Linked DNA regions of Homo sapiens: regions 1 and 3 are each linked to region 2. The links are contacts of gene promoters, found by promoter capture Hi-C in blood cells and fetal thymus (Javierre and others, 2016). All regions are on one chromosome and are shown on one strand. The core of a region is centred on a gene start or on the middle of the fragment in contact, and the rest is flanking DNA. Distances in the headings are between cores, read along the strand shown.

Region 1 (4,871 bases), core at 407-2,906, 510 kb before region 2:
TACAGCCTATGACACAACTTCAGATGTGGCAAGCAGGTCCCCCGTTGACAGGAAAGCCACCTTCTGATAAACTGCAGCCCAAGCTTCCTTTACTTTTCTGAAAGCCCATAATAATAACACAGAGTTGTAAAATATGGAAGTCTGAGGGCTGGTATTATAACCTGAGACAATTTTGGGAATCTTCAAATGGGTAGTACCTGAAGTACACCTCTTGATTATTCCCAGAAGCAAATTTTCAGAAGATCTTCTGCCAAGAGCTTCAGATCTGTGAGAGAAAAACCTTGGGGGTGGGGGGTAGGGGGGAAGGTAGAGGAGCACATAACCATGCTGTGAAATTCCTGGGCTAAATATTCATTTCAAAACAATAAGATAGAAATGGAAACACTGAAATAGTCTATAAACTATCTAAATATTACCACTACATGATTTTTCATATGAAGCACTCATCTCTCTCCCTATCAAAATTTCTGGCTGCTTTGCTGAGTCCTATCAAATAATTATTGGGGACTCATTTTTCTGGAATGAACAGAGGGCAGGATCGACTTTTCTAAAGTTGAAGTTTAGAGGAATGTCTGCATTTGAAATCTCACTTGTATAACACCCAGCCATCTTATTGCCCATGATTCTTGTGGACAAGAAACCAACTAAGGCATGTGTTTGAATGATTATGGTCTCTAACCTTAGCCTGAGACTGGTAAATTGCCAGATGCTGACTCCTCACAAAAAGCATTTCTGCCTGGCTCAGTGTTAATTGTCACAGCTGTTTCTCTGAGTACGTATGGGATGTGGTGCCCTAGTTCTTCCTAGGAATGTGCTTCTTGAATGAAGGAAACACGTTATCTGCTTCTTATCTGATTATATGTTTATAAATGCATACCTACTTCTAACCTTGTCCACAGGCCAATTTTGTATCAGCCGAAGGCACTCATTTGCTGTCTTAACTTTAGAAACTCTGTCCCAATAATTTAAGAAAGCCTAATCAGTAAAAGCCATCAAATTTCTAGGGAGAATTATTTTTTAATACACAAGGTGTTATTAAGTAGAGTGACTTGGTTTGTACCTTTTCCCTTTCATTTTCCATAGGCTACAGACTGAATGTTTGAGTTCCCCCCAACCCCCAATTCATATGTCGAAGCTCTAATTTCCAAGATGATGTTATTAGGAGGTGGGGCCTTTTGGAGGTGATTAAGTCATGAAGGTAAAGCCCTCATAAAAGGAATTAATGCCCTTATAAAAGAGACTCCCCCCAATAGCACGCATCATCTTTCCACCAGGTGAGGATATAATGAGAAGATGGTTGTCTGCAACCAGAAGAGGGCTTGCACCGGGAACCAAATCAGCCGGCACCTTCATCTTGGAATTCCCAGCCTAAAGAACTGTGAGGAATAAATGTCTACCGTCTAAGCCACCCAGTCTATGGTACATTGTTACAACAGCTGAACAGACTAAGACATCATCTAAAAATGTCCATTCGCAACTGAAAGTGAACAATATTAATTATTTGTATATTACAAATAATATACAAAACATACCCGCCATTTTATTTCTCCCTAAATTCTATGTGTAACAATCCTCTGGGAAACTGAGTACTTTTCTTCCTTCGTTGCCAGTAAAGATACCCTGTGATCTCGAGAGTTCTGCTATCAGTGGAGAGTAATCATTAAACAGAAAGCACCCCATGTGTAGTAAAAGACTCTACACATGGTTCTAGTTATACCACCCTGGATTGTTTATTTGCTGAAGAATCCCAATCCTTGGACTGGCTAACTTAGATTAAAGAGCCAGACCATCAATATCATATACAAAAAGCAGCAATATTTTTTATTTAAGTGTTAATTTTCATTTAAAATGTATATCTTTTAAAGCAATACATATGTACATTAGTCATCTATTTTTAGCTTTCAAATTCTACCATAGCATTGGCATTTGTGTCTATTTTTCAAATTAAAAAAACTGTTTTCCTGCTTGCTTTAAGGCCTACTCACAAGGTATTAGAGGATATGAGAAGCTGAAGTTCTGTGATCCAGCCACCCCACAGGCTGACACCTTGTTGGTACTTTCTAAGTAACATTTGGATATGCTCTTCTTTAAAAATTGGATTCAGGGGAAAATTAAATTTAGGACTTTGTGGTTGGCATAGGGGTAAGTGTTGAGAAATGTTCCTTTGGCTTGCATGAAGGAAAGAATATGGCCATCCGGAACCTTTTTTAAAAAAACAAACAAGCCTTTAATCTTCTTGTTATACTCAATTTCCTTTTGCATGGAGAGTGTGGCACTGGGGCTGCCTATTTGAAAGAACTGTAAGGAAACAATGAAGAAGAATGGCAAGGGGAGTGGCTCCCAGGGCCCTCTATTAGTTCCTATTCTTTATACAATGCATACAAAGACACACACACACACACACACACACACACACACACACATTTTTCTACCACCACTTTCCATCCATGTACATTGTGTTCATCCATATCTGCTGTTCTCAATACTTCTTTTGACTTAGTTCACTCACACTGACTTTACATTTCTGAGGCCGGAAAGATTGCATCTCCCACATGCATTTATTTCTTTGCTCCGTGTGTTTTGAGAGTATATTTCCTGACCATCAATCTACCCCTTGTCTCCTTAGAGCAAATGTAGTCTCCTTCTTTGGCATTTCCCATTGTTAGATAGGACAATGCTGGGGACAAAAGTACTCCATACATGCTTAAAGAACAAATGACACATTATCTGTCATCAGAATTCTGAATCTGAATGTCCCACAACACTAACAATCTTTTCTTAGATGATGCCTGATATCTACGGACATTATGGACATTACGCATACAGAGAGTGCCTTAGGACCATATGTATGTGCAGAATGTGACATTTTTGCATGTTATCTTCATCCAGTTTAATCCTACTCCAACTCCAATTTTGAATACAATATTTGATTCCTTCTGCTGATGTCATCACCTAGTAATCCTGAACTTCTGCAGCAAGGCAACAAGGGACAATCACCTTACGGTAGCATATTTATCACTGTAGGTGATAAACATGGCAGAGCTTGCCTGTTACTTGTTGAGTTTCTTAGGGGGCCATTCAGGGATATGGCCGTATTGCTGTAGTTCAGCAGGTGAAAGGAACAGAATTGGATGTGTGCCTTACTCGACTTTGTTTCAGAAAAGGGTGTGAGCTCTTGTTTCCCGGATATTTTTGAAGGACACTTGAGGGTTTCTTCCCCCACATTTATTAAGCTTTCATTGAAAGCAGTAGGTGAGACATCTAAATGTGTTTTTGTGTGGTTATCTAGAAGGAATATAACATCTAGGTACAAAAGTGAAATCTAAAGTTAAAGACTTGTATGCAAAGTTTTCATGATTATTTCAAGGTTCAGCAACACAAAACACACATCCCTAGCAGTGTCAGTGAAAATCTTAGTACATTTAAGAGATTGACACGGTTCCCTGGTATGCCCGTCAGTTACAGAATTACACTGTGGTCCTGGCAGAGACTTCCACGTTTCACACCTTAAGCTACATAATCCTTACACACCCCCAACTGTTAACTATCTGGAGGGAAGGTACAGAGATTTGCAAATAAATATATTTGAAAGAGCTAAGGAATTATCCACAGGACTTACACTAGTGTCAGTCATTGAAGAACAAAAAGTTTTACTACCGGATATGTGTTCTACATGAGTGATTTAGAAGCATTTTATGCACTCAAATGTCTCCAAGGATCCGAGGACAGTCAGGATGCATCAATGAATGCATTACTTAGATATCTTTACTTTGTCCCCTCAACTCCTCTCTCCACACTTCTTTTCCCTGCTGTCTGCCAGGACACTGCAGTTCTGGACTGCATCAGCAAGGCCCCCATGCCCTCAGGCTTCCAATTGTGTTTGACCCATAAAGAGTATCTGCAGAAGATCAGTTAGACAGAGGAAATTGGGATCTGGATATTTATGCCTCTGGCTCCCTTCCTGCTGTTTTGCCTTAGGCTAGAGGCATCCCTCAACCACCTTTTCCAGGCGGCAGGCTGTATGACAACTCAAAGACTCACCAGCTCCTTCCCTCTTCCAGCAACCATTCCCTCCCCACAAGCTGTCAAGCCTGAGTGGTAACAAGCTGGTTGCTACAAGTTACAGATAACTGCACTCTCCTTTGTGTTTCTCCTATGCTAACTTTGTCAATAAATCCTCCTCTAATTATCCTTTTTTTTGAGCGTGTCAACTGTTTTTTGTTAGAACCCTGACCTATGCATCCATAGGATAGAATGTCTGCATTTTTCAGGGCCTCTGTAGAACATCTAGGAGGCAGTGCATGCAGTAAAAGGTAGGTGGCAACCACTCACAACATCAGCATGGAGTTTTGGGGCTGAGTTCCAGACTGGGGGATGCTGGTGGGGTGTGGCAGGGAGAGATAGTCAAATTTTTGCAATTTGTAATTTACCACCATCATGGTGCACTTATTGCCTATTCCACAGGCAGGTGGAGAGAAGCTGCTGGACATGGAGCCAAGAAAACGGAACTCAGTCTCCCACTTCATGTCCCTTTCAGGGAACTATAGCCTGAGCTTGTAAGGCCCCTCATTGTCACAGTTCCTTGTGAAGGGTACCTTAGGCCATCTTTATGAGTAAGAAGTGAGTGTCCTTTGGAATGGTTTTCCCAAAATCTTTTAAATTCTGTAGGAAAATGTCAAGCAATAAAAAATTATAGGATGATATGTTTATGGTAAAGAGATGGTGTTTAAAAACAGGAACTTTGCCCATGTATTTACTTAAATGAAGAAACATCAAATTACCTAATAGTAATACATGTTTTCTTAATGATATTGCATTAAGAATTGCAAAAGATCATCTGTGTCAACCCGCCACCTACAAGGAAAACCACG
Region 2 (4,979 bases), core at 1,831-4,330:
GCCTCAGCCTCCTGAATAGCTGGGATTACAGATGCCCGCCACCACACCCAGCTAATTGTTGTATTTTTAGTAGAGACGGGGTTTCACAATGTTGGCCAGGCTAGTCTTGAACTCCTGACCTCTGGTGATCCACCCGCCTCGGCCTCCCAAAGTGCTGGGATTACCAGTGTAAGCCACCGCACCTGGCCTCCACAGTTCTATATATTTTATCTCCAAAACATTATTTGACTGTCTTCTCCTTTCCACTCTCAAGGTCATCATTACCTTGCTTCCAGAACACTTTAAGGGCCCTCTAACTGGTCTCAACACCTCCCATCTCTCCTAGCAAGGACCCATCCTAATAGTTTTAATTTTTTGTCATGATCAAAAGCCTACAGCTACCTACAGCAAAATAAAATCTCCTCAGCCTCCTATACATGTCTTGAATTGGTCTAAATTGCTAACTTGTTAGGTTAGTGCCTATTAACTGTTCCTCCTTAATATACACCATAATATCACATCAGTTTTACATCCTAAGAAAATTGCAAAAATTTACTACACTGAATATAGTCATTGCAACAAATCGCCTGTATAATTATTAGAGTTGTATTATACAGCTCCTGGACCAACACCTGGCTGTAATCCAAATGTGTGTGTTGTGTGTGTGTGTGTGTGTGTGTGTGTGTATGTATATATACATATATGTCAGCAACAAAGGCTCAGAAAAGGGAACAGAAAAGGCAGGCAGCAGCCACAATGTCCCTTGGACTGTGTTCCACAAGCATGTGTATCCATTGCTTGATGGCATCAGTCACTAAAATGAACCTATCTCCTGCTGCTCTGTCTCTAGGCTTTCCGAGCAAACTTCTGCCAATGATGGGGCTTCATCTACAAGGAGTCTGGTCTCCAAGGAGAAACAATGAAATGACTTGATAATTCTATTCTCAATTATTTTTGAGTCTGTTTTAAGACTGGGCTTTAGGCCCTGACTGACATTAACCAATCACCCATGGAACCAAATTGTGAGCTTATTTAAGCAGAGCCATACCCTGAATTACAGGGCTAGAGGAACTATCAGCCTGTGGAGAATTATCTGAATGACCAGGCCCTGACAGGCATCTCTCTTCTAATTGCAGGCTTTTTTCCTGCAGCAGCACTAGTAAGTACATATCATGAATAAATGCCGCACCTCTGCACCACAGAATCTTCACAATGAGTACTTCTATCATAAAATGGCATTTGCAAAAAAAAAGGCATAGAAGAGTGGGTCATTATTCCAAGGTGCATGTAAAACACAAATCAAAAAACTCATCGTTATACTTATCAAGTGGAAACAGGTAAATATTTCAATTAAATCTATGTAAGATGAATTTAAATAAGAATCTAAGAAAAAACGCTTATGCACAAGTTAAGTACCCTCACTAACTCCAAAATTTCTCTACAGTCACGAACATTTTCAAAACAGTCAAATTTGTTTCTGCCCCTTGTTATCTGGCTAGTTTTTTTATTATAAGAACAGAATTAGATCCACAGTAGCCATTGTGTTATCACGTGGTCTGAAATGTTAACTGGTCAGGCTGATGGTTATTAACTACTTCTTAATGGACTCCACAATATTATCAAGTAAGCAATCAGACCTTTAAACACAGAATTAACGTTCTACAGCTCTTTTTCAAAGAGTTATCATAATCTGAACGAGCCCACAAAAAACAGAATCATCTGTATCATCACCAATAATTCATACTGAGCATTTTACACTGCTCTGTACAGGGCTGACAATACTAGAGGCCAGTTCTACCGTGGGAGTTTCTTAGGTTTTTTCAGCAGTTAGCACTGAATGAAATGTAAAAATTTACATATAATTAACTCATATATTTCTTCCTATCTACTATCACTGAATCAGATCCACGACATTTGCTGAACATGAGAATGGGGAAATTATATAAAGAATCAAAAGAAGGATGAGGAGGGAGAAGAGGAACAGTGGTGGGCATGGGGGAGGGGATCGCCAAAACTCAACAGGGAGCCTGGGAATGTAGATTACATCAATTTTAACTCAGAGAAAAGCCTCTTCTGGAATTAACAGTGTAGACCTACTGCCTGTGCACGGTGATTCTTGCCCATGTATGAAAGGACAGCAGTGTCAGGCCCCCAAATGAAATTTAATGAAAAAGACGTTGTTCTCACCAGCCAGTAACGCCACCCATTACAATCTGGGTAGCTACTGAGTATTTTTCTACCATAGGTCCCGAACTGTGGCCAAACACTCGATTCCACCACTGGTGTCTTCTTGCATACTCAGTTAAATCCAACACTTCATAAGAGTCGTCATCACTTTCATAGTCTTCAAAATAGCAAAATGCAAAAAATAAATGTAGAGTCAATCAAAAGTCAGAAATGTTCTATACATCTTTTTAAAAATCTGTTACAACTCATTAGTTCTGGCCTACAGCTAAAAATGCCCACATAGAAACTACTGACTTTATTTAACTCAATTCTTGAGACCAGGGCCTCAAGAGTAAAGGACCCTGCAACAATGACCCCCATCTGCTTTCCCAAAGGCCCGGGGACCAGCCTGGGGTCACGAAGCCAGGGCCAACTCAGAATGACACAGTAGTGAGGGGTCACCCCCACCTCCAAACCTTAGTAGGGTCAAGGTCAGAGCAGGGTCCATTTTCATCAGTGGGAGGAATGGGGGTGGGGAGGGGTCCTCCTGAGAGAACTAGTCTGGAGCTCAGCGAAATCACTTGAGTCCAGACGTTTAAAAAAAGAAAATAATACATTTGAAGATGGGAGATGAAGGGCCGGAGGTGAAGGTAAGGCAGGAGGCAGGTAGGGCTGTGCTGGGGGTGGGGGTGGCTCTCCGCTTGAGTTCCGCAGAGAGGGGAGGAAAAAGTCTAGCTCGGAGGGGGTGCTCGAAGGGGCTGCCTTAAAAAAAAAATGGAGCTCGAAGAATCCTAGGGCAGGGGAAGGAAGAGGTGCCATAGGAGCAAGGTCGAGAGCTGTGAGCCGCGTCCCAGATACCACTTCGGGCCCTGGCCGCTCACCTTGGGGAGGGGGGTTCCGGGTCGCCATGATACCGCCAGCGGCCAATTCTGGAGTGGTCCCCACCCGCCCTCCTCTCCCTGGCACTTTAAGGGCCGCTCTAGGCCAGGATGGAAGTCTATGGTCTCTTTTTTCCTCCTTCTCCTACTCCAGGCGCGTAGTCCTGTCTCCGCCCCCTTCTCTCAGCGCAGGACCTTCTGCCTTCTGCGCAGGCGCGAAACTCCGGAATGTGGGGAGGGCCGGGCGGATCATAGCCCCGCGAGAGCGTAGGGGACTTGTAGTCCGTTGCCTTCCGCAACTAGGAAGGGGGAGGGACCGCCCCTCCTAGAATTTCCGTAACTTGAATTTGATTATTTTGTTTTAAAAGAGCCTTAAGGGCTGAAGGAATGGGGTGAAGGGCGCCACATGGTGGTACAAAGGGAGAACCAGCTGGGTATTGACAAAGACTCTCTCCTTGACCAAACTTTAGTCAGGAGGCTCCTCTGAGCTGTTTTTGACTGGGTCTCCTCCTTGGGTCGTCTTTGACCTGCCTAGTCCATTTGTGGTAAGAATGCAGTTAAGTCAGTTTAGTAAGAACTCCCCCACCCTTAATATCGAATCACCCTCAATATCCGATCGAATTCCTCAACCCCACTCTTGATATCTGATCACTCTGCCACCAGCAAAAATCCTGTTAAATTGGCTTTAGCAAGAATACCCCTACCCTTCATGTCTACTCTTGGTAATCTTCCACCCATTGATCCATTCACTCTGATCATTTACTATAAATTCCCTGCTGTATTCAGAGTTGAGACCCATCACTCACCCCTATTGCCATAGTCTTTGTTTTATGAGAAAAGGTATTGCTCTGTCACCAGGCTGGAGTGCAGTGGCGCTATCATGGCTCACTGCAGCCTCAAACTCCTGGGCCCAAGAGATCGGCCCACCTCAGCCTCCAGAGTACCCAGGACTCCAGGCGTGCATCACCACTCCCGGCTAATTTATTTTTATTTTTTGTGGAGAGTAGGTCTCCCTGTGTTGCCCAGGCTGCTCTTAAACTTCTGGGCTCAAGCAGTCTTCCTGCCTCTGCCTCCCAAAGTGCTGGGATTACAGATGTGAGCCACCATGCCAGGCTGTATTGCAATAGTTGTGATACCTATTGCAGTAGTCATGAACAAAGTCTTCCTTACCATTTTAAGAAGTGTCCCATAATTTTTTTGTCAGGCCCATCACTTGCATACTGTCAGAATAATTTTTTAACAGTATTTTGAACATTACCAGAATTCAAATGCTTGAGGAAAAAGGCTTGTAAAAGATAAGAGAAACCCTGTTTCAAGCCATACTTTTCTAAGGGCGCAAGCGCTCACAAAGGGACCACAAGTTTTCTAATGCCCTGCTGCTAGAAGTTGGAATCTGTTTACCTGCTCTCTCTCTTGAGTTCCTGCCAGGAATCCAAAGGAGGTAAAGAAAGGCCTAGAAACCTCGTAATTCCTGACCTGGCAAGAGGACATAATTTTTTAGTGTCATTCTTTTGTTTGTTTGTTTGAGATGGAATCTCGCTCTGTTGCCCAGGCTGGAGTGCAATGGCACAATCTCGGCTCACTGCAACCTCCACCTCCCGAATTCAAGTGATTCTCCTGCCTCAGCCTCCCAACATCCCAAGGAGCTGGGATTACAGGCACGTGCCACCACGCCCGGCTAATTTTTGTATTTTTAGTAGAGAGGGGGTTTCACCATGTTGCCCAGGCTGGTCTCGAACTCCTGATCTCAGTGATCCACCCACCTGGGCCTCCCAAAGTGCTGGGATCACAGGGGTGAGCCACCGTACCCGGCCAGCATCATTCTTATTATTTAAATCTGACAGAGGAACAAGGTCAAGGTCTTCACCCAGAAACCCCATGGGATTCTATGAATACAAAGCCATATTGATCACCAAGCAGCTAACCCAAGTCCACATAAACCAACCCAGAAACTTG
Region 3 (4,547 bases), core at 550-3,049, 300 kb before region 2:
GAGGAGGAGAAGGAGGCTTGCATGAAACTGAGGTAAAGTTCTCTAGAACAAAACAAAGGCAAACAAAACATCAATATTTTTTTTGCCCTGATTATGGCTGTTTTGAAAGGTTTGTTATGTTTTCAAGATGAACATGGAGATCTTTGTAGACTATTTTAAACTCTTTCAAACAAAACAGCAAAATCCTGTGAGAGTACTTTTCAATCATGTTTACAAAAACCATGGAACTCACTTAATAATCACCATTGGTTCAAAAGTTAAAAAAAAAAAAAAGAATCTATGTCAAATAAGTAAACGTTTATATTTTGTCATCACATTCCCATTTCTGAATATTTTTTGTTCTCCTCTGATTTTTCCAATAATATGAAAATTCAAACTTGAAACTTTAGGCCACTCGTTCCACATTTTAACCTGTAATTTAGCCCTCTCCTATCTCAGTCAACACTCACTAATAAAATTCTTTTCCAAACAGGACTTACTCCTGACTATTCACCTTTATCCTTCCCCATCCACCATCTCCTCCTACTGCACCCTGTATTTGAGTACCCTCCATTGCCTCCAAAGTAACTCCAGGTCATAGTACTTCCCTATGTAGTTCAAAAACAAACACCAAAACAGAACTTTCCTCTCACCAGCCACGGCCCCAGGTAGCTTTTGTTAAGCCCAAGAAAAGACTACAATTGCACTCAAATGCAATGAAGCGAACAAACAAAACAGAAAAAGAAAAAACTTTTAAAATAGCCAACTGCCTACTCTCTCCAAGGGAGTGCTACGCGGTAAATACTGTTGATTTTATTTATATACTTATCATCTGTGAGGAAAGAGAGGTGGAGAGAGAGCTGGTAACATATTTGTAATAGCCTAGGAGCTTTCAGGTACTCATTTGCGAGGCTGTACAATCTCAGAAGCAACCGTGCTCTCCAGAGCAAGGAACATATTGACCTGGTCTATCCAAGTCACTGTGTTTGTCCCCAACATAAATGGCAAAAAAAGATGCCACATCTTTCCTAAAACAAAACAAAACAAACTCCCACAGAATCTATTTTCTACTTCTTCCCCAAGCTTCAGTATGACATAGGTGTTTTCAATCCTGTATGAAAGGAGTTCTACATAAGCAAATATTTCCTTTTCCACTGTCAAAGTTCCCATAGAGGAAGAGTACAAATTTTAGTGCACACCTCCGGAAGAGAAAATGGAGATCAATTTTTCATCCAAGATAACCTAACTCTTAATATTAAGGTGGTTGTTTGGTTTTTGTTTTGTTTTGTTTTGTTTTGTTTTTTAACTGATGATCAAAAGGCTAAGGGCTTGAGGCCACTTCTAACTCTTGTTGAAAACATTTTCAGCTTTCATATGTCCTTAGACTTCCTAGCAGCCTTTGTGTGAAATTTCCCCAAAAACAATCCCCAAAAGAGTATTGTTACATCCTAACAGAGACTGCTTACAGCAGACATGTTTATAAAGGTGACTCAGTGAAAGGGGGGAGCCAGTGTGCCAGTACAGAAGTGACTTGTGAGCTTCAACTATTGCTATTTTTATGGTGATTTTAAAGAAAAGTCTTGGAAATAAAGAGGAGAGTTCAAATCTTGGAATTGGGCAGAATTGCAGTAGACTCTATCATTGCTAACCATTACATCTAACACACCACTGTTTGGTCTTTCATTTCAGGAAGAACATCATAGCCATGGCAGGAGAGCTGTATGTGATTATTTAAAAATCTGGGCCTGAGGAGTTTCTTTCAACAGGAGACATATACATACAACTCTACATACCAATCTAAGCAGTCTAACCAAAAGAGGACACATATTGAATCTCAAAGTAATTAGGACTGCATTCTACACTTCCCCCTAGAATTACAGGGCTTATACCACACTGTTGTTTTCTCAACCATATAATTTTTGCAACAGATTTAAGTAACAAAAGAACCAATTTAGAGCTTTCCTCTGCACCCACAGTGCCATCTAGTGTATAAAAGCTGAGAACTTTTCCACTCCATCATGCCTGACTTTTATACCACCACATACATCTTTTTGGAAACTCTGGCTCAAGATCCAACTTTAAATCCCATTTATCTGGGTAATTTGCATACGTTCACAAAGCTCTGGACTCACAGCTGAATGACAAGTTTCCTCACTTTGGTTTTCCATCATCCCAGCATCCTGCGTGTTTTAGGTGTTCAAAAATATTCATTGAATAAATGAAAAAGTATACATTTTTGTACAAAGCATCTTCCCCAATGTCTCAAGTTGGCATTCTGCTAGATCCTGAGACAGATATGTCTTTTAATTATCTGATTCCTCTAATTCCAAGTGACTTGTCAAAACATATATATATTGAATGCCCATCCATGGTTGACTAGATTCCAACAAATTGGCAGACAGATGATACATATTACAAAGGAGTCTTAATGCTTCTTCGTGGTGATTTTCTATTCACCATCTCAGTGGGAAAGACTACTGGGAAAAGCCTTCAGTTACCTCAACGTTCACTGCTTATGTTCTAGTAGCCTAGAGATGAATACAGGTTTTGGGAGGCTGGAAGCTTAAATAATTTGGGCAAAGCTCTTCTAGGCAAAGAATGTCAAATTACTAAGACAAAGTTAGGCCAGGGCCTTGGATTGGGACCCCTGGAAAGGAAGACCTCTAAAGATTACGCTTCATTAGCTTCAAGGTAAATCCACTTGTGCTTGTATTCAATACCCATGTCAAATGATTTCAATGAAACCTAAATTCGTGAATCACATTATGTTAGAGCTATAAAATCTTTAAGAATCCTCCCATCTCAACCATCTTCATTTCATAGGGGAAGCAAAAGAAACAAAATTGTTAGGTCCATCAGGGCCATGTGATGAGACCAGAAGCCAATTCTATCCTATTGGTGCAATTTTAAGTGTCCAATTCACTCAAATAATCATTAAACACTCATCTTAAATGTCCTGCTGTTCCTAAAAATTCAGAGATGGCCAGAAATGACTCCACAAAATTAAAGGTGCTTTAAGATTTTTGTTGAATCTAAGCATAGCCCAATAAGTGTTCAACAGCAACAAGAATGAACAATCTTGTTACTAGTTTCATTGTCCCAGCCACTAAGAAAAAATAAGAAAGTCCACTGATAGACAAATAATAACCTAAAGCAGAAATTCCTACGTAAGAACAGTTTACATTTGATCCCTGTCCTTTTAGTGAAAGAAACACCTGCTGGAACCCCTAGAGCCTTTTTCAACCTTCATGCTATAGGAAAGATCAACAGACCTCCATCTGCCGGACCGTGTTCATTCACATAAAATAATGAGGGAGTGACATGCTACAGCCTGGCAGGCAAGCCAGGGCCAGCAGGATGGCCAAACTGTCTGATGGAGGGGGTCCCACTGCACTATTAAAGAGAAGAAATCTATGGAATCACCTTCTCCTTAGAATCCTTAAATGTATGAAGGAATCATCTTAAGAGATTGAGTTTTACACAGGAGCTCAAATGTCTCTTGGAATTTTAGCAAGCCCTCCACTTCTACATAAATAGAAAGGTTATCCATGTACCTTTCTTGGGACTGTGGCCAACTCCTTCTCTTTGTCTGCCATTTTTTCTCCCCCAAAATATGTTGGGGTGTCATTACACAGGAGAAGGTACTAAAGCACCAAGGCGGCGTACTGCGTTAGAAATCTCCCGTGACTTCCTGCTAGAGACGCCCCTAGCTGTGTTGCTGCTGCTTGTCAGATCCTTCCTGCGTGCTGCACAGTGGAGATACCCAGGTTTTCTACTGAACACAATTATTGACAAAGGAGGAAATGTGACCACAATTATTGACAGAACCACAATGATTGATGGGACTTTGTCCTGGTTTGGGTTTTAAGGATACCAAAACATAACGCATGTAATTTGGTCAATTTAAAAAATTGCTGAGACCAGATGAACTATAAATAAAATTAAAATGGCAGAAATAACTGTATCTAAGCAACATTAAGGATATTAATTTAACCTTACCAAAAAATCAGGAAAAGCAAATGCAAAGATTATCAGAGAACACTGATTCATTCTCCCCTCCACCTCATCATAGATATAATTTCTAGTCTTTACTTACATTAAGTACACTGTTGTAACACAAGAAATGTTGTGTAATAATAGTGTCTGTTAAATGGGATATTTTAACATATGTTATGAGAAATATAAAAAGTCAGTGTGACTATGAAATGCATCATAATTTTGCATTTGCATAATTTTCTGTTTAAATGCATAATGCTCATGTTATATTAGCTTTAGAGGCACAGACTACTTTTTTTTTACATAATACAATTAGTCCACGGAGTGAACAAAAGAAGTGAACAGAAAGAAATTAGCACAAGGACTCGACTGAAATGGACCATAGGACATTTGAAGCTGATACATTTACCCAGGATGGCTCGATTTGGAGCACACCAGGGAATTCACACTGCCTCAAAAAATTTTCTAGAGAAGCCGTTAAGACCCTAACAACATACTAAGTCCCACCAGTAGGACATTCATTTTCCCAAATGCAACTTTCATATTCTCACCAAGCTGACAGACAAACATCA

What was found. Contacts are between HindIII fragments. The CHiCAGO score rates a contact against its expected background, and 5 or more counts as called.
Region 1: a fragment that was not itself captured here is called in contact with the fragment with the promoter of FUNDC1 in region 2 in 1 of 17 cell types (neutrophils); the score reaches 6.1 in neutrophils.
Region 3: a contact is called between a fragment that was not itself captured here and the fragment with the promoter of FUNDC1 in region 2, in 1 of 17 cell types (total CD4 T cells). The highest score is 5.1, in total CD4 T cells.

What each region holds. Positions count from the first base shown.
Region 1 is chrX:44,035,790-44,040,660 of GRCh38, forward strand. No RefSeq gene overlaps it. Among named protein-coding and RNA genes, the nearest start is that of NDP, 65 kb to the left of the region's middle. The HindIII fragment of the contact is 3,150 bases long and covers 82-3,231 here.
Region 2 is chrX:44,539,779-44,544,757 of GRCh38, forward strand. It overlaps FUNDC1 (FUN14 domain containing 1), which reads right to left and starts at 3,081. Exons shown (of 5, transcript NM_173794.4): 1 at 3,027-3,081; 2 at 2,167-2,323. The coding sequence starts at 3,054. RefSeq lists enhancers at 2,776-3,165, 3,346-3,395, 3,406-3,465. The HindIII fragment of the contact is 14,705 bases long and covers 1-4,979 here.
Region 3 is chrX:44,242,248-44,246,794 of GRCh38, forward strand. EFHC2 (EF-hand domain containing 2) reads right to left here. Exons shown (of 15, transcript NM_025184.4): 8 at 1-42. Among named protein-coding and RNA genes, the nearest start is that of EFHC2, 99 kb to the right of the region's middle. The HindIII fragment of the contact is 1,479 bases long and covers 1,061-2,539 here.